Linked DNA regions of Homo sapiens: all the other regions are linked to region 4. The links are contacts of gene promoters, found by promoter capture Hi-C in human tissues and cell types (Jung and others, 2019). All regions are on one chromosome and are shown on one strand. The core of a region is centred on a gene start or on the middle of the fragment in contact, and the rest is flanking DNA. Distances in the headings are between cores, read along the strand shown. Region 1 overlaps DMC1 (DNA meiotic recombinase 1). Region 2 holds the start of DDX17 (DEAD-box helicase 17). Region 3 overlaps JOSD1 (Josephin domain containing 1). Region 4 holds the start of SOX10 (SRY-box transcription factor 10). Region 5 overlaps DMC1 (DNA meiotic recombinase 1).

What was found. The method cuts DNA at HindIII sites, captures the fragments that hold promoters and counts their contacts. A contact is called where the count stands out against the background at its distance.
Region 1: a contact is called between a fragment that was not itself captured here and the fragment with the promoter of SOX10 in region 4, in 4 of the 25 tissues and cell types used here (dorsolateral prefrontal cortex, lymphoblastoid cells, mesenchymal stem cells and 1 more).
Region 2: a contact is called between the fragment with the promoter of DDX17 here and the fragment with the promoter of SOX10 in region 4, in 3 of the 25 tissues and cell types used here (liver, lymphoblastoid cells and mesenchymal stem cells).
Region 3: a contact is called between a fragment that was not itself captured here and the fragment with the promoter of SOX10 in region 4, in 3 of the 25 tissues and cell types used here (dorsolateral prefrontal cortex, lymphoblastoid cells and mesenchymal stem cells).
Region 5: a contact is called between a fragment that was not itself captured here and the fragment with the promoter of SOX10 in region 4, in 4 of the 25 tissues and cell types used here (dorsolateral prefrontal cortex, lymphoblastoid cells, mesenchymal stem cells and 1 more).

Annotation. Positions count from the first base shown.
Region 1 is chr22:38,555,782-38,561,973 of GRCh38, forward strand. All of the region lies in intron 5 of DMC1 (DNA meiotic recombinase 1), which reads right to left. Among named protein-coding and RNA genes, the nearest start is that of DMC1, 11 kb to the right of the region's middle. The HindIII fragment of the contact is 5,518 bases long and covers 469-5,986 here.
Region 2 is chr22:38,503,363-38,508,933 of GRCh38, forward strand. It overlaps DDX17 (DEAD-box helicase 17), which reads right to left and starts at 2,949. Exons shown (of 13, transcript NM_006386.5): 1 at 2,589-2,949. The coding sequence starts at 2,875. RefSeq lists enhancers at 2,014-2,905, 2,785-2,974, 2,906-3,797, 3,375-3,784 and silencers at 2,225-2,394, 2,425-2,694. The HindIII fragment of the contact is 16,171 bases long and covers 2,680-5,571 here.
Region 3 is chr22:38,685,101-38,690,691 of GRCh38, forward strand. It overlaps JOSD1 (Josephin domain containing 1), which reads right to left. Exons shown (of 5, transcript NM_001360236.2): 3 at 4,196-4,324; 4 at 3,835-4,029; 5 at 443-2,901. The coding sequence ends at 2,802. It overlaps TOMM22 (translocase of outer mitochondrial membrane 22), which reads left to right. Exons shown (of 4, transcript NM_020243.5): 4 at 1-321. Among named protein-coding and RNA genes, the nearest start is that of TOMM22, 5.9 kb to the left of the region's middle. The HindIII fragment of the contact is 8,429 bases long and covers 1-5,591 here.
Region 4 is chr22:37,983,070-37,988,739 of GRCh38, forward strand. It overlaps SOX10 (SRY-box transcription factor 10), which reads right to left and starts at 1,486. Exons shown (of 4, transcript NM_006941.4): 1 at 1,270-1,486; 2 at 288-799. The coding sequence starts at 715. It also overlaps a transcript of POLR2F not described here. RefSeq lists enhancers at 1-592, 2,547-3,381. The HindIII fragment of the contact is 28,697 bases long and covers 1-5,670 here.
Region 5 is chr22:38,534,229-38,540,311 of GRCh38, forward strand. DMC1 (DNA meiotic recombinase 1) reads right to left here. Exons shown (of 14, transcript NM_007068.4): 9 at 5,093-5,184; 10 at 4,311-4,384; 11 at 4,067-4,181; 12 at 3,364-3,424. Among named protein-coding and RNA genes, the nearest start is that of DDX17, 31 kb to the left of the region's middle. The HindIII fragment of the contact is 3,555 bases long and covers 599-4,153 here.

The DNA.
Region 1 (6,192 bases), core at 1,978-4,477, 570 kb after region 4:
CTAGTCTTTAGAATTGAATTGGAGTTACAGATCGTCTTAATTATTATTATTATTATTTTTTTTTTTTCGAGATGGAGTCTTGCTCTGTCGCCCAGGCTGGAATGCAGTGGCGTGATCTTGGCTCACTGCAGCCTCCGCCTACCAGGTTCAAGAGATTCTCCTGCCTCAGCCTCACGAGTAGCTGGGATTACAGGTGCCTGCCACCACGCCAGGCTAATTTTTGTATTTTTAGTAGAAATGGGGTTTCACCATATTGGCCAGGTTGGTCTCGAACTCCTGACCTCAGGTGATCCGCCTGCCTTGGCTTCCCAAAGTGCTGGGATTACAGGCATAAGCCACCATGCCCAGCCCATCTTAGTTATTAATTGGGTATTTAATATTGTGCTGGAACTATGTTTCTATAGTCAATTGAATTTTCAATGTTTTTTCTTTTTCTTTTTTGAGACAGAATCTTGTTCTGTCACCTGACACAGGGCTAATTTTTTATTTTTTGTATGGCTGGGGTCTTGCTATGTTGCCCAGGCTGGTCTCAAACTCCTGAGGCTCAAGAGATCTGCCCACCTTGGCCTTCCAAAGTGCTGGGATTATAGACATGAGCCATCATGCCCGGCTTCAGTTTTTAATATACTGAAAAACATATGAAAAACAGGTATTAGGAAAATCCAGTGATTGTCATTATGGTCAGGTTATCTCACATAAACCAAATATTATGGAGGACATGTCAGAATAGTAAATGTCAAAGATGTTGTAGGTAATGCTAGCAGTTAGAAGAGTAACTGTCAGATTCTGACAGCATACATTTAATTGGTAGCCCAATGTTGTAGTGCATTTAAAGCTCTGAATAAGAAAAGGCCTAAATTTAAGTCATGATCTCATTCATTCATTAAATGCAACACATATTAATTGTGTTAATTGTGCTAAGACCTGGTAGGGGCACTTTAAAAACCTTGTATGTAGTCTATTAACATGATTTTTTGGGATGTGATCACAGGTCAGACAAAAATTTAAGATATATAGATAATCCAATACATTTACATTTACATAGTTTAAGAGAGCAATTTAAATGTAAATTGAAACAATGTTGGAAGTTATCCACAAATTTAGTGAGGGCTGCAGACTTCAATAAGGAAAAGAAAAATCTAGATAGTGTACCTGCACAACTTAAATCTAAAGGACATGGGCTAAGCGATCAACCCATTTGGAGGGAATACACTTGGAAATCTTATAGGCCCAGCAACTATTTTTTTCTTCAACTTTTATTTTAAATTCAGGGGTACATGTGCCAGATATGCAGGTTTGTTACATAGGTAAACGTGTGCCATGGTGGTTGGGCTAGCAACTATTAAAGAAAGCTTTATTTGTCCCTCTTCTTCCTGAGAAAAATTACCCTGGAAAGCTATACCTCTGGAAAATCCCAGACAAAATTCCTGGTTGATATGTAATCTCAATCAGCTGAAAAGGTAACCCCAAAATTTACCTGTGAGGATACCCCAAATTATTTGGGATAGCACAATTGTTTCCTTTTTGAGACTCAGGAAAATTTAGAATTAAGTGTAGAAATAGTGTTTTTAAATATAGGGAGATTTAAAAATAGAGACACAAATCAAACCCATAGATTACTATTTTCATATTAAATTTGGCAATATGGGCATGGTGGCTCATGTCTGTAATCTTAGCACTTTGGGAGGCCGAGGGAGGTGGATCGCTCGAGCCTGGGAGTTCAAGACCAGCCTGGATAACATGGCGAAACCCAGTCTCTACAGAAAATACCAAAATTAGCCAGGTATGCTGGCCTGTGCCTGCAGTCCCATCTACTCAGGCTGCAGTGAGCCGTGATGGAGCCACTGCATTTTAGCCTGGGTGACAGAGTGAGACCGTGTCTCAAAAAATAAAATAGAATATAAATAAATAAATTTGGTAATAACCTGTGCATATTTGCTATTTGAGACCTTTTAACGTTTAAGATAATTTGACCTTTTTGTAATGGATTGGCCTCTGACTGATTAAATGGTACATTCCTTCAATTTTCAAGTTGATAACTAATTTTATAAATAGTATTTGAACATTTAATGGTGCCTACAACTCACTATACTTCTAAATTTATTTGAGTTACAAAAGATATTTAGGTAATTGGGAAGATTTTGCTGTTAATAATTAGATAATTAGACAAAGTTCTTTTTTTTTTTTTTTTTTTTTTTTGAGACGGAGTCTCACTCTGTCGCCCAGGCTGGAATGCAGTGGCGTGATCTTGGCTCACTGCAACCTCTGCCTCCTGGATTCAAGCAATTCTCTGCATCAGCCTCCTGAGTAGCTGGGATTACAGGCACCCGCCACCATGCCCGGCTAATTTTTGTATTTTTAGTAGAGACAGGGTGATCCTGTCTTTAGTAGAGACCTTGTGATCCACCCGCCTCAGCCTCCCAAAGTGTTGGGATTACAGGTGTGAGCCAGTGCACCTGGCCAACAAATAAAGTTCTTAAAGAAAATACAATACACTAAATGTATAAACATAATTAAAATGTTTAAGAGAATTTAATCTTGTTATAAAAGCACCCTTAAAATGTGCTAGATTTATAAAGGGACTTAAAGCTTAAGGAAAAATGTATAATATTTTAATTAATTAAATATTAATTTTTAAAAACCTAGCTCCTGGCTGGGCGCAGTGGCTCACATCTGTAATCCCAGTACTTTGGGAGGCCGAGGCAAGTGGATCATCTGAGGTCAGGAGTTCGAGGCCAGCCTGGCCAACATGGTGAAACTCTGTCTCTACTAAAAATACAAAAATTAGCCCGGTGTGGTGGCACACACCTGTAGTCCCAGCTACTCAGGAGGCTGAGGCAGGAGAATTGCTTGAACCCAGGAGGCGGAGGTTGCAGTGAGCCGAGATCATGCCACTGCACTCCAGCCTGGGCGACACAGCAAGACTCTGTCTCAAAAGCAAACAAACAACAAAAAAAAACCTAGCTCCTGAATGATCTTTTCTGTTCTCAAGAGCAAACATCAAGGGCACCAGAAAACTCACAATAACAGTAATTATTTCTTTAGCCCAGTGGTTCTTAGACCACCATGTGGTAGAGTAACTAAAGAAAATCAGATTGTCATTTGAATCAAGTGTTTTGTTGATCAACCTCATTTTGACCAATTTGCCTAGGGGTAGGATTTCTCCAAGCCTCTTCCTTAACTTTACTTGAAAAAAGGGTATGTGATTTTAAAAGTCTGGGACAATGCTGGGTTAAACAGGTATTTTCTTTTTCTTTTTTTCTTTTGAGACTGAGTCTCACTCTATTGCCCAGGCTGGAGTGCAGTGGCACGATCTCGGCTCACCACAACCTCCATCTCCCAGGTTCAAGCGATTCTCCTGCCTCAGCCTCCCGAGTAGCTGTGACCACAGGCACATGCCACCATGCCCGGCTAATTTTTTGTATTTTTAGTAGAGACGGGGTTTCTCCATGTTGGTTAGGCTGGTCTCGAACTCCTGATCTCAAGTGATCCACCCGCCTCGGCCTCCCAAAACGCTGGGATTAAAGGTGTGAGCCACCGTGCCCAGCCATTTTTTTGGTAATTTTTAGTAGAGACAGGGTTTCACCATGTTGGCCAGGCTGGTCTAGAACTCCTGACCTAAGGTGATCCACCCATCTTGGCCTCCCGAAGTGCTGTGATTACAGGTGTGGGCCACCGTGCCCTGCCAAAACAGGTGTTTTGTGTCACTGCAGGATTTCACAGGCTAGTGTGCGCTGTGACTCTTCAAGAAGAATATATAGTATATGGTACTTCTCAAACTTATTCACTATTTGTTTATTCATTCATTTAGTCATTCAACAAATATTTATTGCACACCTAGTTTATGCCAGGGATTGTTTTGTGCACTTGGGATAAACTAGAGAACAAAAGAGACAGAATTTTTTTCTCTCACGAAGTTTACAATCTAGTGAGAGATTAGATAATAAACACAAATAGGCCAGGCGCCGGTAGCTCACACCTGTAATCCCAGCACTTTGGGAGGCTGAAGCGGTGGATCATGGGATCAGGAGTTCAAGACCAGCCTGGCCAAGATGCTGAAACCCTGTCTCTACTAAAAGTACAAAAATTAGCCGGGCGTGGTGGCGGGCACCTGTAATCCCAGCTACTCGGGAGGCTGAGGCAGGTGAATCGCTTGAACCTGGGCAGCAGAGGTTGCAGTGAGCTGAGATCATGCCACTGCACTCCAGCCTGGGTGACAGAGCAAGACTCCGTCTGAAAAAAAAAATAAATAAATAAAATAAAAAATAAACACAAATAAGTAAAATATGTAGTACATCAGATGTTATTAAATGGTATGGATAAAAATAAGGCCAGGAAAGGGGACAAGGAAGACAGAGTATGAAAGTTAGGAGGTTATACTGTCAAATAAAGTGATCAGAGAAGTTCTCATTGAGACATGGACATTTTTGCCAAGACCTGAAAGAGATGACAGCAAGCCATGTAGATCTAAGAGGAAAGAATATGATAGGCAGAGGCAGCACAAAGTGCAAAGGCCCTGATGCAGGAGTGTATCTGACATATTCTGGGAATAGCAAAGAGGTCACTATGGCTGGTACATAGAAAACTAGAAAAGTGAAATATTAGAGATGGGAGAGGACTTTGGCTTCTTTTCTGAGTGAGAGGGGGAATCATCAGGGTGTTATGAGCCACTGCATTCCAGCCTAACCTATGTTTTAAAGTGACCATTCTGGCTCTTTAGTGAATTAAAAAAAAAAACAAAACAGTAGGGGCAAGGTCTCAAGGAGGGAGGTTAATTAGAGGTTATTATAATAATCCAGGGGAGATATTAATAGGTGGTAGTTTAGTCCAGTGAGGTAACAGTAGAGGTGGTAAGAAATAGTTGAATTATATTCTCACTCTCTATGTACACACACACATATACACATAAAAATAACATATATTATATATTAATCTTTTATTATAGAAAATATCAAGCATAAACAAATGTAGAAAAAAAATAATGAACCATCGTGTCTATCACTCAGCTTCAACAATCGTCAACTATGAACTCAGGGTAAATCTTTTTTCATATAGACCACTAACCATTTACCTCCCTTCCCATATTATTTTAAGCATATACTAAGCAACATATCATTTCATTATAAATATTTCAGTATGTATCCCTAAAAGATGAAGATGAAGACTCTCATCTTTAACAACCATATTCCCACTATCACACTTAAATTTAGTAATTCCTTAATTTTTTTTTTTCAGACAAGGTTTCTCTCTGCGTCACCCAGGCTAGAGTGCAGTGGCATGATCGCGGCTCACTAGAGCCTCAACCTCAACCTCCTGGGCTCTAGCAATCCTTCTATCTCACTCAGACTGCTGAGTAGCTAGAACTACAGGTGTGCACCATCACACCCAGCTAATTAATTTTTTTTTTTTTTTGTAGAGACAAGGTCTCAGTTTGCCGTTAGGATGATCTCAAGAGATCCCCTCCCCACCTCCAGCCTTGGCCTCCCAAGGTGCTGGGATTACAGGTGTCACCCACTGCACCCGGCCAGGTGATATGTCTTTTAAATCTCTTTAATCTATAGGTCTTCTCCCTGACTCCATCTCTTTTTTCCTCCTTGTAATTTATTTGTTGAGGAAACTGGGAGGTTTGTTCTGACTAAATATATTTTGAAATTAGAACAGACAGGATTTATTAATGGGTTAGAGTTAGGGTGTGTGAGAGAAAAAAGATGTCAAGGATAACACCCAGGTTTTAGGTCAGAGGATCAGGAAAGAGATAGATCTAAGATGAGGGAGACTTTGGGAGAAGCAGATTTGGGGCAAAGGTCAGAAGTTTGATTTTTGGACCTGTGAAGTCTGAGCTATCAATTAGACGTTCAAGTGGAGGTATATTTGACTATGAAATCCTTTTTTTCTTAATGTATCTTGTGAGGCCAGCATTTTGAGAAATACTTAGAGGAAATACTGCTTTTGTTCTAAATGCTCTTGGGCACTGCTGTAACACATGAAACACTAATTCTTTCTAGTAAGGTAGGGAGAAAAAACCCACATTTTAGTAAACTTGCATTGAGAAGATGATGATATGTCTTGGGGATCATAAAAGAGTAAATAAAAAGGGATGTTAAAACTTCTCCTGCAGAAGAGCAAAAATAACTGCAATATTTCTGAAATATTTAATCTAACAATTGCTTTTTGAGTAAACCCAAAATGTGC
Region 2 (5,571 bases), core at 1,699-4,198, 520 kb after region 4:
AAAATAAAACTTGAAAGTAAGATTCCTGTTAAGGCTTTAAACTGATGATTATCATTCATGTATTTTTTTTTCCTCTCTCCTTACTTCCCTGGCTATTTATTCAAGACATTCTATTCTACACTAAACATTTAATTTGAAACATGTGGTTCTTGGAAAATATGCCGTCTTCCATGTTTATAATTAATGCTGACATAATTAATGACCTCAAAATTCAAGAAAGCCTTTTACTTTTGAGCATATCCATGCCATCTTTAAATACGCACACTGTACTCTCTGGTATACTATGCTGCTCAAATGTTTTTATCCGGTCAGTAATTAGTTTAATTTGGCTTTACAAAAAAATTCACCTTTGAAGTCATATATTAACATTAAAAACCATACTACTTCAAATGTACAATGCCTATCATTTTTGCATCACACATGTGAAATACATGAACTGACCTCACCTATTCCTTTTTCAAAATAACCACCACTTCAACTGTGTAACACTCAGTTGAAACAACAGCAATTCAAATAATCAAGAACATTTCTTGGGAAAGGGAGAGTTGGGGCACAGATCTTATGAAAGAAGGCTAGTTCGTTTGAAATTTTTAAAAAATGTCATCTGATACTCAAAGTATGGATCAGTAATTCACTTTTTTCCTTTCAAATAACTTATTAAAGCATATATATGGTGAAAGGAAATATTAAACCAAACACCAATGGTAAAGAAATAGAACACTATTAGTAACTTGTAGCCCCTCTATGTGCCTATTTCAAGCTTACAACTTTCACCCTAATAACCACTACCTTGAATTTTGTTAACCACTCCCTTTCCTATCATATTTGCACATATCCTTAATTAAATGTGTCACCCTACCACAACGTGCTTTTTAACTCAACACTTCTGTGACTTATCCACATTAATCCAAGTTCTTTTCTCTTTTTCACGGCTGATTCAATTGTACGAATACCCACAATTTATGGAGACATTTGCGTTGTTTCCAATATCCTGTTAGCACGAATGCTGGTATATAAACTTTTCTGTACAAGGATCCTGGGGTACCTGTGCAAGGATTTCTCTAGGCATTACAGTCTAGGGTATAAAGCTTAGGGAGGAATTGCTGGGTCGTTTTCAACTTTCCTAGATAATCTCAAGTTCTTTTTCTAAGTCAATGAACTGAAATTCACTTCTAAACTTAGCAATACTGTCACACGCGAAGCAAACATTCCACCTCTCATCCTCTAAACAATGAGATAAAATATTTTCCTTCCTAATAAGGTATAAATCAAAATAATTTTGTAAAAAGTGGCAACTGAAGTGCTTGAGACTAGTAAATCCAGCAGTTGTGGATCTGAACCACAAAAGACAAAAACGTTTGGAGAAAATATCGTTAACAGAGCGCCTACTACAGTGAGACTATTACATCCATTATCTCTTAATTCCTGACAACACAGCAAAGTAAAGGCAATTATCACGTTCCTCAGAGGAAACAGGCTCACAAAAGGTAGGATCTTGACCAAGGTCACACACACACATATCAAGTGGCGTCACGTAACTCTTTGGGGAAGCGGGGGGGTCGGGGGAGACGGAGTTTCGCTCTTGCCACGGGCTGGAGTGCAATGGCGCGATCTCGGCTCACTGCAACCTCCTCCCCCCGGGTTCAAGCGATTCTCCTGCCTTGGCCTCCCGAGTAGCTGGGATTACAGGCATGCGCCACCAAGCCAGGCTAATTTTGTTATTTTTAGTAGAAACGGGATTTCTCCATGTTGATCAGGCTGGTCTCGAACTCCTGACCTCCGGTGATCCGCCCGCCTCGGCCTCCCAAATCGCTGGGATTACAGGCCTGAGGCACCACGCCCGGTCCACAATACCAAGAACTTTCTAGCGAGGCAGAATAGTTGACGCTGCAGTCCAATTAGAGAAAAAAGGCTGAAATATTAAGATTAAAACTAAAGTAACGACCCAAAAACCCATCCTTCCCCCAAACACGGTCATTTAGATGGCAAGCAACTCCACTGCTTTACATCCCAATGCATTTCCTCCGACTTAAAATATAACTGAAGAGAATTAAAATCTATTTCTAAAAATGAGAAGTTGGTCTTTTCGTCTCCCGTGCCTTAAACAGTGAACTCTGGGGAGAGAACGTCAAGGGTGCCATTTCGTGTAAGGCTTTCCTGGGCTGAAGTGTTCTCTCAGGAAGATCCGCGTTTTTCAGATGAACGCCGAGGCCTGGAGACATCGAACAGCCCGCCCGAAGCGGCCCGGCTCGAGAGCCGGGAAACCAGGCGAGGCGCCAAAGCCCGGGCCTGGGCTGATGCGGCCAGGCCGCCCCTCCCGATCCCCCGCGGGGCTGGGATGGGGCCGGGCCGCGCCACGACGGCCGTCCGCACGGAGAGGCCCAGCGTCGCCAAGCGGCCGCCCTCCTCGGGTCCCGAGTGACCCCGGGGCCGAGGTCCGCGCACGAAACCGCTGTCTCGCCTCGAGTCGCCTCCCCTCGCCTCCCGGGTCGAGAGCAAGGCTCCCAGGCTCGCAGTCCGCCGGGCCTCCCCAAGAAGCAACTCCCCCACCCCCACGCCAGGCCTCTCCTCTCCTCCCCCACCCTTACCCTCCACGGTCACGATCCCGGTCCCGGTCCCCAAAGCCTCCTCCGCGCATGGTCCCAAAAGGATAGAGATCTGGGAGCGGGGCACGGATGGCCGGGCTCGGGAGGGCCTGCGGCTCCGGTCTGGTGACGACCGATGGCGGCGGCGCCTCCGCTGTTGGGGCGGCGGCAGGCGCAGCGCTCTCTCGCTCCGACGCGCTGTCTCCCGTCGCAGACGCCACCGTCGCCGCCTCTCTCGTCGGAGACGGGAGCAAAACACAGAGAATCGGGGCTACAAAGCCGGTGGGCAGGTTTGGCTACGCTCAAACCGGGCAGTGCCGCGGTTTAGGCGTCTCCTTCCTTCCCAGCGACTGCACAAAATGGCGGCCGCCGCTGAGTCGGCTCCAACTTAACGCTGCGTACGGCGGAGACGATACGTAAACAGCGCCTCGGAATAGCCCGAGGGCTCCGCGGGGAACTACGGGTATTCTTGGAAGCACTTTACGTCAGTTGCGACGATGGGTGTATTTTGCGGTCTGTACAAGAAAAACAAAGTACGGAGCGAGCGTAGAGTTCTCGCGCCACCCGAACTAGAACGTGGGATGAGGTGGGAGGAAGCGCCTCTGGTGCGACGTAACATTCTTTGCGTCGTTAGCCGGCCTGCTGTTGCTAAGATGCGCAGTATGCGTAACGCATTCTGTTTAGAGAATAGAGGATTTTGCCTGATTCCGATCTCGGTACAGACCCCGCGGCCGGCTTGAAGAAGTTGCTTTGCAGAGACAATAACCGTCCTCCATATTGTTATCAAGTTTCAGAGTCCTCTGGCGCCAGAGGCCGGGAGGGTCTTAAATTCCGTGGCTGGCCTTCCTATATGGCGCCGCCAGCCCTCTCGCCCCACCGCCCTGGGCCCGCTGAGAATGGCGGCGGGCCCCGGCGCCATTTCCTTTCCGTTGCCTTTCGCTGCTCTGTCTCCGGCAGCCATGATGGAAGAGCCGTGTCCCTTTCTTTCCGGAGTTTGTGAGGTGGCGATGTCCCTTCCAGGTTAAAGTGCCCTCAGCTACATTTGGTTCACACTGAGGTGCATTTTCTGAACCGTATATTTTTACCGTCCCTGGCCGAGCACAGCTGTTGCTAATACAGAAACAAAATGTGCTTGGAGGCCAGGCATGGTGGCTCACGCTTGTAATACTAACACTTTGGGAGGCCGAGGCGGGAGGATCACCTGAGTCCCGGAGTTCGAGACCAGCCTGGCCAAAATGGCAAAACCCCGTCTCTACGAAAAATACAAAAATTAGCAGGACATGGTGGCGGGTGCCTGTAGTCCCAGCTACTTGGGAGGCTGAGGCAGGAGAATCGCTTGAACCCGGGAGTCGGAGGTCGCAGTGAGCCGAGAACGTGCCACTGCACTCCATCCTGGACGACGGGGCAAGAATCCGTCTCAAAAAAAAAATTGCTTGGAGCCCCAGTGGACTCCGTGGGCCCTTTGCTGCCGTTGAACGGCGCTCCTCAGAAGGCCCGGAGAAGACCCCAGCACTCTCAGGAGAACAAGGTTTCAGAGCGATGGTCTTTAGACACAGAAAGGGCGAAGGCTAAGGACAAGTGTTTAACCAGGCTAGTCCACGTTCTCCGCTCAATTCCTTCCAGACTGGCTTCCCTCTCCTTACCTGCTTCCTGTCGTCTCAAACTGCATTTTGAAGCCCCGCAAGCTTGGCCAAATGGCGTCACACGACTGTTGAGCTGTTAGGGCCCTCGAGACGGGCCCATCTAACGTCTCAATTCAACAGATGGGTAGAAGCGGGGAGATTTGGCCCCTCAGTGTGGGTGCTGAGTGTTTGTTTCCCAAATTTTTGGGAACATAGCATAAGAAAAGGAGCTTCAAAAAGAAAAAAAACATGGACCACTGATTTTTCTGTGGTTATGTGTTCTTTTTCCCCAAGTACGTTCTTAACATTGGCAAGTGAACCTCTTAAAGTGATTGAGACTCGCCTGGGTCATATTCTTTTTCTTTTTTTTGTCTGGAGTGCAGTGGCACAATCTCGGCTCACTGCAACCTCTGCCGCCCGGGTTCAGGCAATTCTCCTGCCTCAGCCTCCCGTGTAGCTGGGATCACAGGTGCTTGCCCTCGCACTTGGCTAATATTTGTAGTTTAGCTGGGGTTTCACCATCTTGGCCAGGCTGGTCTTGAACTCCTGACCTCGTGATCCACCCGTGTCGACCTGCCAAAGTGCTGGGATTACAGGCGTGAGCCACCGCACCGGCCTGGGTCATGTTCTTTTATTTACACTGTTAACCTGCCCCAATCCTCATCATCTCTTGCCTGGATGACTGCGCTCGCCTCTTTTTAATCTGCCTGCTCCTGTCCTTGCTCACTCTGAATTTATTCTTCACACTGCAGTCATAGGGGTCCTTTTATTATGTCACTTTACTTAAAATTTTCCAGAGGTTTCCACTTGAAAGAAAAGACAAAGGCCTTACAGTGGCCTACAAGCCCTTGAGGATGCAGCCCTCTTCTGTCTTTCCTCCTTGTTCTACTCTAGCCACACTCGGCCTCAGGGCCTTTGCACTCGCTCTTTACTCTATGTCAGCAAGGCTAGATACCTCAGTTTAGGTCTGTGCTCACATGTCACTCAATCAGGGAGGCCTCCCCAGAACCCAATGCAACACTGCATAACCTGCATACTCTCCTCCTTCACAAGTACACATGCATTCTCTCTTTTCCATTTTTCTTTGCTTTCATTTGAATTAGTAACTGCTTGACATAAACACTTTTTGTCTCCCTCCTAGAGCGTAAAATCTGTGAGTGCAGGAACTTACTTGTTCACCACCGTGACCCAGTGCCTACCTGGCACAGTGCCTGACCTTTTAGCCATTCGACCACGCCATACCCTTGTCCAGTGAGTCTGTGACTGTCCCTTTGTGTTTCTGGGCCAACTGACATCTCAACGGCTTTTGTTTTTTGAGACAGAGTCTCGCTCTGTCGCCCAGGCTGGAGTGCAGTTGGCTCACT
Region 3 (5,591 bases), core at 2,770-5,269, 700 kb after region 4:
GTTTATCAGATCAACCAACACTACAATCTAGGTGGTACTGTTCCCATTTTACAGAAGAGGAAACAGCCACAGAAAGGTAATTGCTCAAGGCTGCAGAGTTAAGTGCTAGACCTGGATTCAAATCCAGGCAGTCCAGCTACAGAACACTGCTGCTGTGCGCTCGGGATGGTGGGGCTGGGCCCAGGCCCGCTGGGTATACATGATCTTTCACTTGTTAACTAGGGAAAAACACTAGTCACCAGTGTGGTACAAACTTGTACTTAGGTGGATTCTTCAAATTGTCAAGATTAGTTTTTATAAATTAAAATAGACTGAAAAATGTCTTAGAGACATCTTTTGAACCAAATCCCATTTCAGTGACTATTTTGTCTGGATTTCTCAGGTGAAAGAGTTAATCAAAGAATGATATGTCTCTAAAAGATGACTTACGCTGGCAATGAACTCCTTTTAAAACAGCGTCATACTAAAGTTTATTTTTCTTTACACAATTATAGAATTCAGGCAGACAAGGAGACATATATGGAGTTTTCCATTTTTAATATTTGGTTAAACAAAATACATCTTTTGTAAACAAACGCAGCACAAGGCCAACAACAAAAAGGAATAAAAGCAAGAAAAACAAAAAGCCTAGGGTTGCCCGTTATTGGGCATCAGGGTCAGGCCTGTTCACTTCCTTAAAGGAAGTGGGGCTTTTTGCCCTTGGGCATCAGCATGGGTCCCTGTTCCTAAGCACCAGAATTGGATATGAACAGAGAAACCAGCCCTGAAATGTTTAAGCGTCTTTGCATATCCCATTGGCTCATGGACTCCAAGTGCATGGGGACTCTTTCAAGTGCCATTTGCACAGGCCCAAGTGGATTTGTGGAGAGGAGTTTCCTCCTCTACCCAAGAAATGGCTTACTATCTGACAGTGCCAGTGGCCCCAAGGTCCTGCTTGTGACAATCAGCAAGGTTGGCTGTAATGTCTGGCTGGTGGTGGTTGGAATGTCATTGTGCAGGGCAGGAAAAGAGCTCCCTGTGGTGCCAAGCAGGTCTGGTGTAGAAAATGGTGCAGAAGAGACTGCGGCCAGTTGCTGAGAAGATATAACGCAGTAGCCGCTTGGTGGCCTGTTACTCAGCATTAAAAAAACGGCCTTGTTGGATTGAAGATACATGTGCAGAAAAAGTGCTGGTGTCAACATGCACTCCAGTCACAGGGGGGAGAAAGCCCAGCTTCACCCCGTTAAGCTTGCTCAGGATCAACATGCAAGCCCCAGGCTGGCTTTGCTGCTGGAGAGAAGTCTGGCCAGTGGGACAGCTCTCAGACCTGCCACGACCATTGATCTGAGGGCCAGCAGGTCACCCCTGCCTGCCACCTGCCTTGAGGCAACCACATCCACTTTGGAGACACGCATATGGTATGATACTTATTTCTCCTCTTTTGTTTTCCAAAGTTACAAGAGAAAAGTGGCCTACAACTATCTGAAGAGGTAGGGGCGGGTTGAACTTCCATTGATACAGAGAGGAAACGACATGAAGATGACCAGCCCAGGTCCTATTCCATCCATACAGCACAGAACCACCCAACCTGAGCTTGGCAACTACAGTGGCAGCCTCCGAGCCTAGAGTGTCTACTGAATTGTGGCTGCCCCTACTCCAAGAAGCCTGTCTTCACAATACTTTCCTCACCCAACGCTGCCCCAAATTAGTGGAATTTGATGTCAAAAGCAGACTTTTTTTTCCTGATTTTGCCAGAGTGAGTGAACTGGGAAAACTGCTCTTTGGCTTCTCTTTTGTCCCAGAGCCTCCTAAATCAATGCTGCGAAATGGTAGGGACAACACTGGAGTGAAGAAACCAAGCCACCCCATGGCTGTCCCAGGTTGGCTTTAGCCACATCCTGTTCAGTATCCTCCTCACTTCATACTAGAATATTAGTTAATTTTTCATTATAAAACTCTGCCGGGTGCGGTGGCTCACGCCTGTAATCCCAGCACTTTGGGAGGCCAAGGCGGGCAGATCACTTGAGGTCGGGAGTTTGAGACCAGCCTGACCAACATGGAGAAACCCCATCTCTACTAAAAATACAAAATTAGCCAGGTGTGGTGGCAGGCGCCTGTAATCCCAACTACTTGGGAAGCTGAGGCCTGAGAATCGCTTGAACCAGGAGGTGGAGGTTGCAGTGAGCCGAGATGGTGCCATTGCACTCCAGCCTGGGCAACAAGAGTGAAACTCAGTCTCAAAAACAACAACAAAAAACCTCCACGTATGGCCATAAACCACCCTTAAACCTGGGGATAAGGGTTGGAGACAGCATGCTGTACCGCTGCTAGGGTTTTGGACATGGTTTCCTGAGAGACCTTTATGCTCTGGGTCCTTCAAACCAGTCACATGGGGTTTGTGGGCACTATCTGCAGACCCACTGTTTTCAGACCCAGACAGGATGGAAAGTGGAGGCAGCATCTCTAGGTGAGTCTGGAGCAGCAGTGACAACTCAGCAGAACCTGTGTCAAGTCCTCATAGAAAAGGGAAAATAAGCTAGGATTCCCTCCCCGCTCCACTTTCTCCTCTGTCTCTTAAATAAAACAAGGGTTTGTGACCACTGGCCTTAAGTGCACAGAACTCCTACCTTCCTTGCCCAGGAACAAAACACTGAGTAGTTCTTATAACAGTCCACACGTCTGTCCTATTGCACTGTCAGATCTGAAGGGGAAAAACTTGATGAGATGTTTGGGGAAGTGGCAAGGGCAGACCCACTGTAGAGGCCACAGCACGTCACAGAGGACTGAAGGGGCTGAGGCGAGAGGGAGGTTGGGCAGAACTGTTACACATCGGTCCTCCAACTCTGATGAGCCTCTACCTCTTCTGGTACCACCAGCAGGAGTTCACAGTTCTTTCCTCGCAAATGATGTTTTAGAAACTTCCTATGGAAAAAGAGATAGAGAAAATGAAATGCTGGCAAGTTGCAAATTCCAGTCTCAGGACCACAAAGTCACCTGAAACCTCACTCTACCCTCGGCAGTCCAAAACACATCCCTGTAGTCATCTGGTTTTGGAGGGTTCCACATTTGGTTACCCTCCAATCTGTCCAGTTAAAATTCCAACCTGAATTTTGCTCATCCTTGTAGTTACTGCCAAGAGTAGCTGGATCTGTGAATAACAGTACCCAAAGTATATAAAGGACTTTTTCTTGGTTTGTTTGGAGACGGAGTTTCGCTCTTGTCGCCTGGGCTGGAGTGCAATGGCATGATCTCGGCTCACTGCAACCTCTGCCTCCCAGGTTCAAGTGATTCTCCTGCCTCAGCCTCCTGACCAGCTGGGATTACAGGCGTCCGCCACCACGCCTGGCTAATTTTTGTATTTTTAGTAGAGACAGAGTTTCACCGTGTTGGTCAGGCTGGTCTCGAACTCCTGACCTCAGGTGATCCACCCGCCTTGGCCTCCCAAAGTGCTGAGATTACAGGCGTGAGCAATCGCCTCTAAAGAACTTTTACAAATGTTCTTTGGTCCTGGGGAAATTCAGTGCTCCCTGGCCTGCATGTTTGTCTTCCTTTCTATGAACTGGCAACTACACTGTCTCAGTTGTCTTAAATAGAGAGAACGTTACAATGCCAGCCCCACCAGACTAGAAGGCTGGTATCCCAGGCTGGGCATCTTCCCTACCAAAAGGACTTAAAAGTACTGATGCGCCATTGAAGATTAAGGTCAGGTCCGAGACACTATGATTCTAAGGCAGGGAGAGAATCCAAGGGCACAGGAATTTCATTTCCTTTGTCAAATAACCAGAGATGAGCTCAGTGTCCCCAACCTAAGAAATGAAGCAGCCTAGCAACTTAGTCACAAAAGGTGCCGATTACCTGAGCTCGCTCTCGCCTCCAATCCACTCGGGCATCTTGAGTTTGGAGTCGAGGTTGTAGTAGGCCCCTCCCACCTCTCGAACACAGATCCAGTGCTGCCTTTTGAGGGGCAGTTTCAGTGGACCCCAGCATAGGCTGGAGGGCAGATTCATGATGAAGCCCATGACGTTAGTGAGGGCAATGACACCGACATCCCTGCAGGGGAGAAATGGTGGCAGGCTCTGATGCAGCCCATTTTCCAAGGTTCCCTGGCTGTAATACCACAACTGGCTACCTCCCCACTCATGCCATGAGCCCAAGTACTAAAAGCTTATACCACAACCGTGCTGTTCTCCATCAAGTCAAGCCTGATTCAGATTACCTGCGCTTGTCCCACCAAACAGCTTCATAGCCTTTGGTCTGAAGTGCTGCCATAATGACATTCACATCGTAGTTGCCATTTCCCAGCATGCTCTTCTTGTGAGGTGTCACCATGGTGTTTGGAGACAACCTACCAATGTGAAAAGAGGAGGGCTGAGACTTGCTGGATGCCTGAACCCCCTGACCCCGCACTACCAGGGATGGAGAGCACTTTACATCACTGCCCCTGGAAGTTAGTTTCCCCACATTCAAGTGCAATTTCCCCAGCTTCTACCTAAGTATTTTGTAAGTGTTCCATGAAGGTGACTCACTTATGAAATCCCAGCCTCCTGCAGCCTTTCTGCTCTTCCTCCTGATACTGATTTTCCTGCCTCATGCAAGCCTTTTTTTTTTTTAACATTGGAAAATAGGATTCAATCTTTTCATTTGCATGGATAGTAACTGGTGTCACTCCTGCTTTCTAGTTAAGGCCTGCAAACTTGGTAATCATTAATCATTAAATACTCAAAGGCATACAGGAGCCTAGACAGGTGACATAAATGTATAAACTGGGGTTGGATATAAGGCAATAAAAAGTAGTGAGGCCTACTGGAATGCACGACCCACCTAAAGGCATTCTGTGTGTGTGTGTGTGTGTGTGTGTGTGTGTGTGTAGTACTTGAATAAATTTTTCTTAAAATACCCAATAAATCAACTGAAAAAAAATTTGTGCCAGGCAAACAAAACTCAGCTGCAGCACTGGTTTGCCCACCCAGCTTGAAGCCATTTACTTCCAGGTTTCTTTAGCCAGTCTGTATTTTAAGACAAGGTCCATGCTGAAGGCATTTCTAATTCTATTATTTTACCTTCATAAACTTGTCAGGCCAGGAGCTGGGGAAAGGCCATTTTGAAGGAAGGGTTCAAGGGGCATACCTTTGGGCTTCGTGTGAAGGGGAGAAAGGGAAGTGTGGCGAGTTCCTCAGGACATAAAGTGCATGATCAAGAGGCTACTACATGCCATCTCCAGAAAAGAATCAAGACGTTAGGCCAAGGATGTCAACTCTAAAAAACTTAAGAAATCTTGTATTTTTAAAATTTTTCTGTGCACAGCAGAAATACTGGTATTTTTTTTCTTTCTTTTTTTTTTGAGTCGGAGTCTTGCTCTGTCGCCCAGGCTGGAGTGTGATGGCGCGATCTCAGCCCACTGCAACCTCCGTCTCCTGCGTTCAAGTGATTCTCTTGCCTTAGCCTCCCAAGTAGCTGGGATTACAGGCACCCGCCACCACGCCCACCTAATTTTTGTATTTTTAGTTGAGATGGGGTTTCACTACGTTGGCCAGGCTGGTTGGTCTCGAACTCCTAACCTTGTGATCCACCCGCCTCAGCCTCCCAAAGTGCTGGGATTACAGGTGTGAGCC
Region 4 (5,670 bases), core at 236-2,735:
CAAAGCCCCAGGCCCCACGGTCTGCCACCCGCAAAATTCCAACCACGAGGGGGCGCCTTCCTGCCCGCCGCCCCGTAGGGAGACCCGGCCTAGGCCGCTGGAGTTCCGAGTTCCAGGGTCCTTGTGATGGAAGGGCGGGCGCGGCCCCCACACCTGGTCTTCCAGCCCTATCCAAGGAGGACTGCCAGACAGTCCCGCTCTGAGGTGCAGGAGGCCGGGCCGCCTCGGCTACCCTGAATCCACCCGAAGCTAGAGGGCCCGAGCCCGGGGGGCGGTCGGGTGCTCACCTCCAGAGCTTGCCCAGCGTCTTGCTGAGCTCAGCGTTGTGCAGGTGCGGGTACTGGTCCGCGAGCTTCCTGCGCGCTGCCTGAGCCCACACCATGAAGGCGTTCATGGGCCGCTTGACGTGCGGCTTGCTTTTGCTGGCGCCGTTGACGCGCACGGGCATGGGCACCAGCGTCCAGTCGTAGCCGCTGAGCACCTGGCTGACGGCCTCGCGGATGCACACGGGGAACTTGTCATCGTCCGCCTCGCCGTCCTGCTGCTCCTTCTTGACCTTGCCCAGCTCGCCTGGCCCCGGGCTGGCTCGCAGGCCCGATCCGCCGCCGCCGCCGTCGGGCCCTAGCGAGGGCGCGCTCCCCGGGGACAGGCAGCGGGGCTCCTCCGAGCCCACGGGGCTCAGCTCCACCTCCGATAGGTCCTGCTCCTCCGCCATGTCGCCCCCGGCCGCCGCCGCCGCCGCCTCGGCCGCCTCCCCCGGGCCAGCCGCCGGGGTCCTCGCAAAGAGTCCAACGCCCACCTGGATGGAAGGAGGGCGCGATGGAGCGGCCGCGCGCGCAGCCCCGAGGGCGGCCCGAGACAGGACGTGGGCACAGCCCCGAGGTGGCGGCCCTTCCTGCTCCAGCTAAACCCATCTGGCCCCTGGGGCCCACGCACATGCCAGACTCTAGGTGGGTGCGTCCCGCCTCTGTGTCTTCCCACCACCTGGTCCCAACCGTCTCTTGGTGTGGGTGGCTTTTTTTTTAGCCTCCTTTTTTGGGTGGAGGTTTGTTGATGATAAGGAAGAAAAAAACGGAGCCTTTATTTTGCTCTAATCCCGGCCCCTGGAATTTCCCACCTTTTCTCTCACCTTTCCTTCTTCCCTCAGCCTGCCCCAACGGGGTTTAGAGGAGAGCCAGGTGGGGGGCAAGGGCGGGGTGTCGCCTCTCTCCACCTCACAGCAGGGTCCCAGGCCTGGGCGGGCCAGGGAGGAGCAGGCTGCGCACTCACCTCCTCGGACCTCTCCTCCAGTCTGGGGCTCGTCCTTAGGAAGTGGAAAACCGTGTCCCAAGGTGTGCGGTCCAGCTCGGGGCTGGGAGGTGACGCTGGTGGGCTGGGAGGGAGGGGCGGGGGGCCCTGAGCCTCAGGCCACGGCCTCGTTAGGACGGAGCCTGAATCCTTACCACCAACCACCCTGGCCGGACAGCCCGAGACTGACTGAGCGACTGAGCCTGAGCCGCTGCGGAGGGCTGGGGAAGGAAGGAGGGGGAGAGGGGGGAGGGGAGAGGAGGGAGGGAAGGGCAGAAGGTGGAGCCTCCAGGCTTTCCTTCATCCCCAACACTCAGGGCTCCTCCACCCGGAGCCCAGGCCCCCCCACCCAGCTCCCTGCCCTACTGCCCAGGCCCATCTTGCTGAGGCTTATCTTGGGCTTAGTCTGGGAGGTGGAGGGGAGGTTAGGCCGAGGAAGGAAGAGATGTAGGCTGGAGGGTCAGAACCTGTTGGATGGAAGAAAATTGGGCCCAACCAGGACTCCTAACGTCTGCCTCAGGTGGCAGGATGGGCACTTGGCAGGGGACTAGGGAGAGACGTGAAGGCGGTGAGGGTCCTGGGGGCCCGTGAGGGTGGCTGGCCCTAGCTGCTTCGTCTGCGAAATCCTGTTGAGTGCCTAGTGTGTGCCAGGCACTGATGCCCAGCTCCTCACCCTGCCTCCTACCTTTTCCCAGGCAGCCCTTTCTGCCCCATCCTGCACAGTAAGAGAGACTTCTCAGGGATCCCTCTGAGAAGTGCAGAGCCCCAGCTTGACCCCTGGTCCCTTCTCTGCAGACACCCAGCACACGCGCGTTCTGGTCTGGTTCAAGGTGGAAACACAAGACTAAAGCTGCCAGGAGGCCAAGGTGGGACAGGTTGGGGGCCCTCTCTCAGTAGGTCTTAGAGGCATTTTGGGTTGCTACCTACTGGGACCCAGCTCCTTCCACACTGGGCTCACCCTGTCTTGGGAGAGGGTAGGGGAGTCCTAGTCCTGATTGTCACGAAGTCCTCTACTCCCCCACCCCAACAAGGGGTGGGGACTTGCCCTGCCTCTTCCCTCCTCTGCCCACCTCTCCCTCCCTCCCCTTTTCTTTCCTGCCCATCCTCCGTTGACACCTTTTTCTCTCTCTTTCCTTGGCCTCTCCTCCAAAGGTCGCAGTGCTGTTCTCTTAACTGAGGGCAGCCCCGCCGGGGTGTTGAGGCCGAGGTGGGGTGTATGTGGGTTATGTAATGGAGCTGGGGTCGCATTGGCAACCATGTGACGTTCTGAGCTCCTCAACAGCAGGGCAAAGCCCCAAGACCACCCCAAGGGGTCCTGTCTGGAGTGGGCTGCAAAGGGTCTGGGGAGGCAAGGCCTCATGCTTGGGAAAGTCCAAAGGGGTGTAGGGGGTGGGAAATGGGACACAATGAGGTAGTCACACGAGGCAGAGGCATGTTGGGGGTGGGGGGAGCAGACACTGGAACACACACACACACACACACACACACACACACACATGCTCACACACACAACCAGCCAGACAATCGGGCCAGTGTGTCTGGGGCCTCGGAGCCCAGTGAATTAGGAGTTTGATAAGGGTTTTCTCTTTCTCTCGCTTGCTGGCCTTGGACAATCTCCCCCCAGTTTTCCTCGACGCCACCCCCGGCGCTGCCAACCCTCCTCCCCCCGCCTCCCTTCTCTTCCCTGTGCCCAGACTCTTGTTCGGGGCCTTGAAACAGTGAGCTGTCTTTGTTCGAAATACAGGTGAACGGCAATCATGTGATTAACACACACACACATAAAAAGCTTTTTAACAGCGCCCGCTCGGCCTCAGAACCGCCCGGAGAGGAGCCGCCCTGGATGGACAGAGGGACGAGGGACGAGCATCTGCCGTCGTGTCCCGGCTGCCCTGCAGTCGCCTCCAACACCCGCTGCTGCCCGCCCGCTGCCTGCCTGCCTGGCATCTCTCTCTCCCGGTGGGTCCCCACTCATCCTTCCACCCCTCAGTTCCTCCTCTTTGAGGAAAGGACCTCCCCGCTCTCTGCTGTGTCTGTGACTGGCCTGAGACCCGCCTGGGGCAGGAGGGGTGGTTGTGGAAGGAAAGAGCCCAGAGTTAGGAGGTGGAATGTGGGGTCCCACAGCTGCCCCCTCTCTAACTCCCTGCTTCCTCCTTTGCCCTCCTTGGTCCAGCTGTGCCAGGATGGGGGTGGGGGTAGCAGTGGGCACGCTCTGTCTGCAGGAAGCCACGCTAGACAGAAGGGGCCACTCCCTCTCTCTCTCCCTTGTCCCCGCACAGACACTGCCTTCCTCTCAGGGCTGTGCTGGGCTTTTTGCTGAGCAGTGTTGGGTGAGGCAGGTGGGCCTGCAGGGCGGGTGGGAAGGGCTGTCAGATGACCAGTGCTGTGTGTGTGTGGTTGGGGCCCCTGCTGCGAACACATCCCTGCCCACCATGCTGGCAACTGGGATCCCCTCCATCCCATCCCAGGCCCTGGGAACCCAGTGCTCTCCAGCAGGCAAGGGTGAAGGACCCATAGTCATTCCTGAAGAGCAGGGAGCTTGGAGAGGGGAGGGATCCTGGCTGAAGACACCTGGGCCTCTGCCCCAGCAGGACAACAGGAGGGCCAGTGTCACCTTCTCCTCCTTTCCCTGCTGGGGGTGGCAGGGGTCCCTTTACCCCCTCATTCTTGACCCTTCTCCAGGGATGCTTGTGACCTCCTTACCCCACCCCCCATCACCTCTCTGTCCTGAAGTGAGGGTTTGTCACCGTCCATGGCAAGGTGTGGTGTCTGGTAGGCTCTATGACCTGCCTTCTCTCAGGGTGTTTATTCTGCAGCAGAGAGGGGTCTGCGGTCTGAGTGTAATGGTGGAAATCCAGGCTTCCTTCCATGGCCCAAGGAGGCCTTTCCGGAGCAACAGGGTTTTCCTGGGACTCAGCCTGGCTTTTGTTAAGGCAGGTCCCGGATTTACTCAGAAGATGGGCCCCAGAGAGGAGGAGAGGAAAGGAATACCTGTCAGTCAAACGTGAAGCCCACTGATGACACTGCCTGGCAGAGCTGCCTCCGGTCAGCAGTGACCCTTCACCCCCCAGCTCCCAAGTCCTCTTCCTGAGGGAGCTGGTCCGGCTTTATGGAAGGCTCCGCCTGTGTTCCCCCACTGGGTCCCTGGTCCCTCACCTGTCACGTGGGGCGATGGTCACCCTCCCTCCCTGCCTGCCCTGAAGGATACACTGAGATGAAGGTCAGGAAATCTGCTGGCTGCAGAACCAGGGGCCATGCAGGAGTGAGGGATGGTCTGGTCAAGTTGAGGCTCTGCCCCAGCCTCAGTTTCCCCACACAGGCATGAGACTGTCTTCCTGACTTTCAGAGGACAGGGCTGAGATGGGATGAGGGAACACAGGGAAAGCGTTTAGCACCTCTGAGTGCTGTGTGGATGCGACCTGGGGGGTCCTGGCCTCCACTCTTTAATTCTATCTGGACTGTGTGCCCTCCTACCTCCAGTTTCCCTGCGGGGGCCTTTCACAGGGCCTGGCTTGCGGATACGGGGTTTGGCGTAGGGCAGTGCTTCTCAAATGGGAAGGCGCACTGGGATTCTTCAGGTTGGGGTGGGGCCTGAGGTTCTGCATTTCTAATCAGTTGCCTAGGACTGGCTCTAATTCTTGTTGAATTTACAATCACTTGTGGAGTTAAGAAAAACATACTGGGCCTTGGTTGGGTGTGGTGGCTCACACCTGTAATCCCAGCACTTTGGGAGGCCAAGGTGGGCAGATCATGAGGTCGAGAGATTGAGACCATCCTGGCCAACATGGTGAAACCTTGTCTCTACTAAAAAAAAAAAAAAAAAAAAATTAGCTGGGCATGGTGGCAGGCGCCTGTAATCCCAGCTACTTGGGAGGCTGAGGCAGGAGAATCACTTGAACCCGGGAGGTGGAGGTTGCAGTGAGCTGAGATTGCACCATTGCACTCCAGCCTGGGCAAAAAGAGCGAAACTCTGTCTCAAAAAAAAAAAAAAAAAGAAAAAAAGAAAAACATACTGAGCCAGGCGTGGTGACTCATTCCTGTAAGCCCAGCACTTTGGGAGGCCGAGGCGGGCAGATCACCTGAGGGCAGGAGTTCGAGACCAGCCTGGCCAACATGGTGAAACCCCATGTCTACTAAAAATACAAAAATTAACTGGGCATGGTGGCACGCACCTGTAATCCCAGCTACGTGGGAGCCTGAGGCAGGAGAATCACTTGAACTCAAGAGGCAGAGGTTGCAGTGAGCCGAGATCGCACCACTGCACTGCAGCCTGGGTGACAGAGTAAGACTCTGTCTCATAAAAACAAACAACAACAACAACAAAAAAACATACTGGAGCCTAGATCCCACCCCAGACTGGTTGATTCTGAATTTCTGGGGCTGAGG
Region 5 (6,083 bases), core at 1,126-3,625, 550 kb after region 4:
TTAGATAACATTATTATGCCAATGTTAGAATTTCTGAATGTGATAATTATATTGTGGCTATGTAGAAGAACATCATTATTCTTAGAAGAGATATGCTGAAGTATTAAGAGGTGAAGTGTCATGATGTCTGTGAATAATTTTCAGTGGTTCAGAAGAAACTTCTCAAATGGTTCACCAAAAAATACATATACAGGCTGGGCGTAGTGGCTCACACCTGTAATCCCAGCACTTTGGGAGGCTGAGGTGGGCGAATCACCTGAGGTCAGGAGTTCGAGACCAGCCTGGCCAACATGAAGAAACCCCGTCTCTACTAAAAATACAAAAATTAGCCGGCCATGGTGGCAGGCGCCTGTAATCCCAGCTACTCGGGAGGCTGAGGCAGGAGAATTGCTTGAACCCAGGAGGCAGAGGTTGCAGTGAGCTGAGATGGTGCTGCTGCACTCCAGCCTGAGTGACAGAGCAAGACTCTGTCTCAAAAAACAAACAAACACGACTGAGTGCGGTGGGTCATGCCTGTAATCCCAGGACTTTGGGAGGCCAAGGTGGGTGGAACACCTGAGGTCGGGAGTTCGAGACCAGCCTGGCCAACGTGGTGAAACCCTGTCTCTACTAAAAATACAAAAAAAATTAGCCAGGGGTGGTTGGCAGGTGCCTGTAATCCTAGCTACTCGGGAGGCTGAGGCAGGAGAATTGCTTGAACCCAGGAGGTGGAGGTTGCAGTGAGCTGAGATCGCACCATTGCACTCCAGCCTGGGAAACAAGAGTGAAACTCCATCTAAAAAAAAAAGAGGCTGGGCACAGTGGCTTATGCCTGTAATCCCAGCACTTTGGGAGGCCGGGGCAGGTGGATCGTGAGGTCAAGAGATAGAAACCATCCTGGCTAACACGGTGAAACCCCGTCTCTACTAAAAATACAAAAAATTAGCCGGGTGTGGTGGTAGGTGCCTGTAATTCCAGCTACTCAGGAGGCTGAGGCAGGAGAATCGCCTGAACCTGGGAGGCGGAGACTGCAGTGAGCTGGGATCGTGCCACTGCACTCTAGCCTGGGTGACAGAGCGAGACTCCGTCTCAAAAAAAAAAAAAGAAAAAGAAAAACAAACAAAAAACCGTATACACATACCACATACATATACATATGAGAATGTGTGTATGTGTGGAGAAACAAAGGTGTATGTACACCTCCACACACACACACACACACACACACACATACAGGAGAGAGAAAAAATGTGGCAAATTTAACAACTGATGAACCTAGATAAATGAGTATGTCTTGCTCTGTCTCCCAGGCTGAAATGCAGTGGCATGAATTCATTGCACTAGTTTTTTAACTTCTCTCTGGTAAAAATATTTTCTAAATAAAAACCTTTAAAAAAATCTTTTTTTTTTTTGTTTTTGAGACGGAGTCTTGTTCTGTCACCCAGGCTGGAGTGCAGTGGCACGATCTTGGCTCACTTCAACCTCTGCCTCCCAGGTTCAAGTGATCCTCCTGTCTTAGCCTCCCAAGAAGCTAGGACTACAGGTGCACACCACCATGCCTGGCTAGTTTTTTTATTTTTAGTAAAGACAGGGTTTTGCCATGTTGTCCAGGCTGGTCTTGAACTCCTGACCTCAGGTGATCCTCCCACCTCGGCCTCCCAAAGTGCTGAGATTACAGTGAGCCACTGCCCACTGCACCCAGCCTTTAAAAGATTTTTTTAAAAGCTTTTTGGCTAGGCAAGGGGGCTCACACATGTAATCCTAGCACTTTGGGATGCTGAGGTGGGAGGATCGCTTGAGGCCAGGAGTTCGAGACCAGCCTGGCCAACATGGCAAAACCCTGTCTCTTCTAAAAATAAAAAAATTAGCCAGGCGTGGCGATGTGTGCCTCCCAGCTGCTCGGGAGGCTGAGGCTGGAGCATCACCTGAGCCTGAGAGGCAGAGGTTGCAGTGAGCAGAGATGGTGCCACTGCATTGCAGCTTGGGTGACAGAGTGAAACCTTGTCTCTTAAAAAAAAAAAACACACACACACTTTAAAAAAGCATTATCATGAATTTAGATTTGTTTTGCTTTGTTTGAGACAGTCTTGCTCTGTCTCCCAGGCTGGAGTGCAGTGGTGTGTATTTAGGATTATTTTGATTGCTTATTCAGACACATAATGCTCAAAATTTGTTACGGTGGCAACAAACCTTTGTTTGATTTATCTATTTTTATTATCCTACTTTAGCTCTCTGTGTGTTTCTATTCACTGCCGTCTTTCAGAGTCATCAATAGTTATGTGCACAAACACTTCAACAAATTCTGAATATGCCTAGTGTGAACTGAAATTCTTTTTCTTCAAACAGGAGACTTCTCCCATAGTGCCTCTGATAAATATATCTCATGTATATCCTGTAGAAAGATGACTTTTTTGTTTTTATGAATGGTGTTTATTATACTGATAAGCTGCAATATAAGTTTTTATTTCCCTAGGATCTATTTCTTATTGTCCTCCCATACCCCTTTAGCCCTAGACCAAAGAGAAGCCCAAAGTACTGCTGAAAATGGTTAAAGTATTGCTTTATTCTATAAAGAACTAGAGAAAAATAGATTCTGGTTACCAAGTGATATTTACAATTATGAAGTCATATACACTGTGCAATAAAGTGATTTTTTTTTTGAGATGCAGTTTTGCTCTTGTTGCACAAGCTGGAGTGCAATGGCATGATCTTGGCTCACTGCAACCTCCGCCTCCCAGGTTCAAGTGATTCTCCCACCTCAGCCTCCCGAATAGCTGGGATTACAGGTGCACGCCACCACGCCCAGCTAATTTTTTGTATTTTTAGTAGAGACGAGGCTTCATCATGTTGGCCAGGCTGGTCTTGAACTCCTGACCTCAGGTGATCCAACCATCTAGGCCTCCCAAAGTGTTGGGATTACAGGCATGAGCCACTGCGCCCAGTAATAAAGTGATTTGTGATATATTTGTGCCCACATAAAGACTAATGATTTTTAAATTCTTTTCTTTTTTCTTTTTTCTTTTTGAGATAGAATCTTGCTCTGTTTCCCAGACAGGAGTACAATGGCGCGATCTCGGCTTACTACAACCTCCACCTCCCAGGTTCAAGTGATTCTTCTGCCTCAGCCTCCGGAGTAGCTGAGATTACAGGTGTGCGCCACCACACCCGGCTAATCTCTGTATTTTTAGTAGAGACGGGGTTTCACTATGTTAGTCAGGCTGGTCTCCATCTCCTGACCTCGTGATCCGCCTGCCTCAGCCTGCTAAAGTGCTGGAATTACAGGCGTGAGCCACCGTGCCCGGCCTTGAAATTATTTTCTATTCTACGCTCTAACCCTCTTTATATTAACCTCTGTGAAATAAAAAGTAGAATATTGGGGCTTACGTCATAGTTGCTCCTGGATCGGCAGTCATTTGATTGGTCACAAAAACAGCCACGTTATATTCTGCATCAAGAGATAAAATTTTAAAACTATGAGAAAGGCAATATAGATATTTAAAAGTTCATTGTTTAGATTTCAGAGTTTAGACATATTGCATCATGAATTTATTTTATAAATAACATCATATTCCTATTTTTCATTGACAACAGAAATTATTTGTTATTATTATTATTAAGGTTAGAATAAATATTTTTGGTTTAAAAAGAGTTGTAAAGCCGGGCTCAGCGGCTCATGCCTGTAATCCCAGCACTTTGGGAGGCTGAGGCGGACAGATCACGAGGTCAGGAGCTCGAGACCAGCCTGGCCAACATGGTGAAACCCCGTCTCTACTAAATATACAAAAAATTGGCCTGGTGTGATGGCAGGTGCCTGTAATTCCAGCTACTCAGGAGGCTAAGGAGGAAGAATTGCTTGAACCTGGGAGGCGGAGGTTGCAGTGAGCCGAGATCGCACCACTGCACTCCAGCCTGGGCAACAGAGCGAGATACCATCTCAAAAAACAAAAAAAAAACAAAGAGTTGTATTCTCATAAAGGTAATTTTATTTAAAAAAAAATCGCTGCCTCCTGACATTATATTCCAAGCTTCTCTGCAAAGTATACTTGACAAACATAGTCACAGATGCCATTTTATTTTAAAGATATACCTTCTGAGATTTTTTGGAGTCGTGACAACATCTGGGCCAATTTTTGCTGCCGTTCGGCCAACTCCCCACGGCCACTGAAATCCACTCGAAAAAGTGCCATTATTGAATCGATAATCTACACAGGATTAATGTAAAAATAAACATGCATTTGGAAATTGAAGGAAGACGTTATTTGAATAGAGATCAATAGAAGAAAAATATTATGCTAAATAGCTCTGTGAAAGCAATATTTAAAAGCTTGTACCAATAGCTTGAAGATGCCAGCTTCTTCATGGAACTTTGCTGCTACATAATCAAGTAGCTCCATCTGATGTTCACCTGATGGGAAATGCAGTGAGAAAATGTTATAAAAGTTGAAAGAAGCAGAGGCTAAGATCATTCATATTCTTGGGAGCCAGGCAAAATAAATTCCTTGAAGGATTTTCTTAATTATTGATGACTTTATTAAATATTATTGCAGCAGGGCATGGTGGCTCATGCCTATAATCCCAACACTTTGGGAGGCCGAGGCAGGTGGATCACTTGGGGTCAGGAGTTCAAGACCAGCCTTGCCAACATGGTGAAACCCTGACTCTACTAAAAAATACAAAAATTAGCTGGGTGTGGTGGCGTGTGCCTGTAATCCCAGCGACTTGGGAGGCTGAGGTAGGAGAATCACTTGAAGCCAGGAGTTGGAGGTTGCAGTGAGCCGAGATCATACCACTGCACTCCAGCCTGAGTGACAGAGCGAGACTCCATCTCAAAAAAAAAAAAAAATTATTGCATATTCTGCCTTAGCATGTATACCAAATGCTACATTATCCAAAAAGAATGTTACTCTTAATTTCAAAGACAAAGAATAATAAATAATTTGAGGGCACTTTATTATCTAAGGACTTACCAGATGATAAAATTTATAGACTGAGTAAATTAATTTAGAGAAAAATAAAATAGAAAAAAAGTATCAAAATGTTGTATCCCTCAAGTAGTAAATCAGTGCTGCCAACCTTACATTGACCCAAGCATCCAACTGCATGGGGCTCTTACTAGTATATGCACGTGCATAAAGTACGTTGTCCAGTACTGCATCATGGTCTACATTAAAGCGATCAGCAATGTCCCTAAGGCGATCTGGACGGCTGGAGTATGCCAAGATTAAGGATCCAATAAGTCAATTCTAAAAAAGTTTAGACAACCACTACAAAACATAATATCTTCCGTAAATTAACAGAGAAGCCAAACAATGTACCTGTGAAGGTATTCTAGAGGATGCTAGCAACCATTTAAAGTCTATACAAGATTTGTTTATTCATAAGTGCCTCAACTTACCATAGGTAGTGATAATGGTCATAGAAATGTGAGGCAGTAATGACTTTAACTATTAAATTATCAAAACTTTACAATAACCTTGGAAGCTAGTTTTTATGGCCTGTTTTACATTTTACAACGTAAGACACTGGCAAACAGAGATTAGGCAAATGACTTGAGCTTATGCAGCAAATCAGTTACAAGAGAAAAACTAGGAACTAAGCTTTGTGAGTCCTTTTGTTCTCAGATCTATAAAAATAGACCTGTAATAGATAATATCACTGAATTATAATTCAATAACTGCAAAGTGAATTAATTCACTCTCTTCATACCCCTCATTCCTCAATATGAAATAGTTTATTATATTATTAATCACATGTTGTTAAATGATAAATTTGACTACATGAACCAAAGGGTCAAAAAGGTAACTTCAAGGGCCCAGAAGAGAAATATCGACCAAAGGTTTTTTGTTGGCATAGGTTTTCTTTTTCTTTTCAAATCTTACCTGGAAAGTATATACAGTTTAAAATCTACTTTCTTCTAAAGGAGTTGTTAGCTTTTTTTTTGTTTTCTCCTCCTTCAGTCTCCTGAGTAGCTGTGATTACAGGCGCGAGCCATCATACCTAGCTAATTTTTGTATTTTTAGTGGAGACGGGGTTTCACCATGTTGGCCAGGCTGGTTTCAAACTACTGACCTCAAGTGATATGCCTGCCTCGGCCTCCCAAAGTG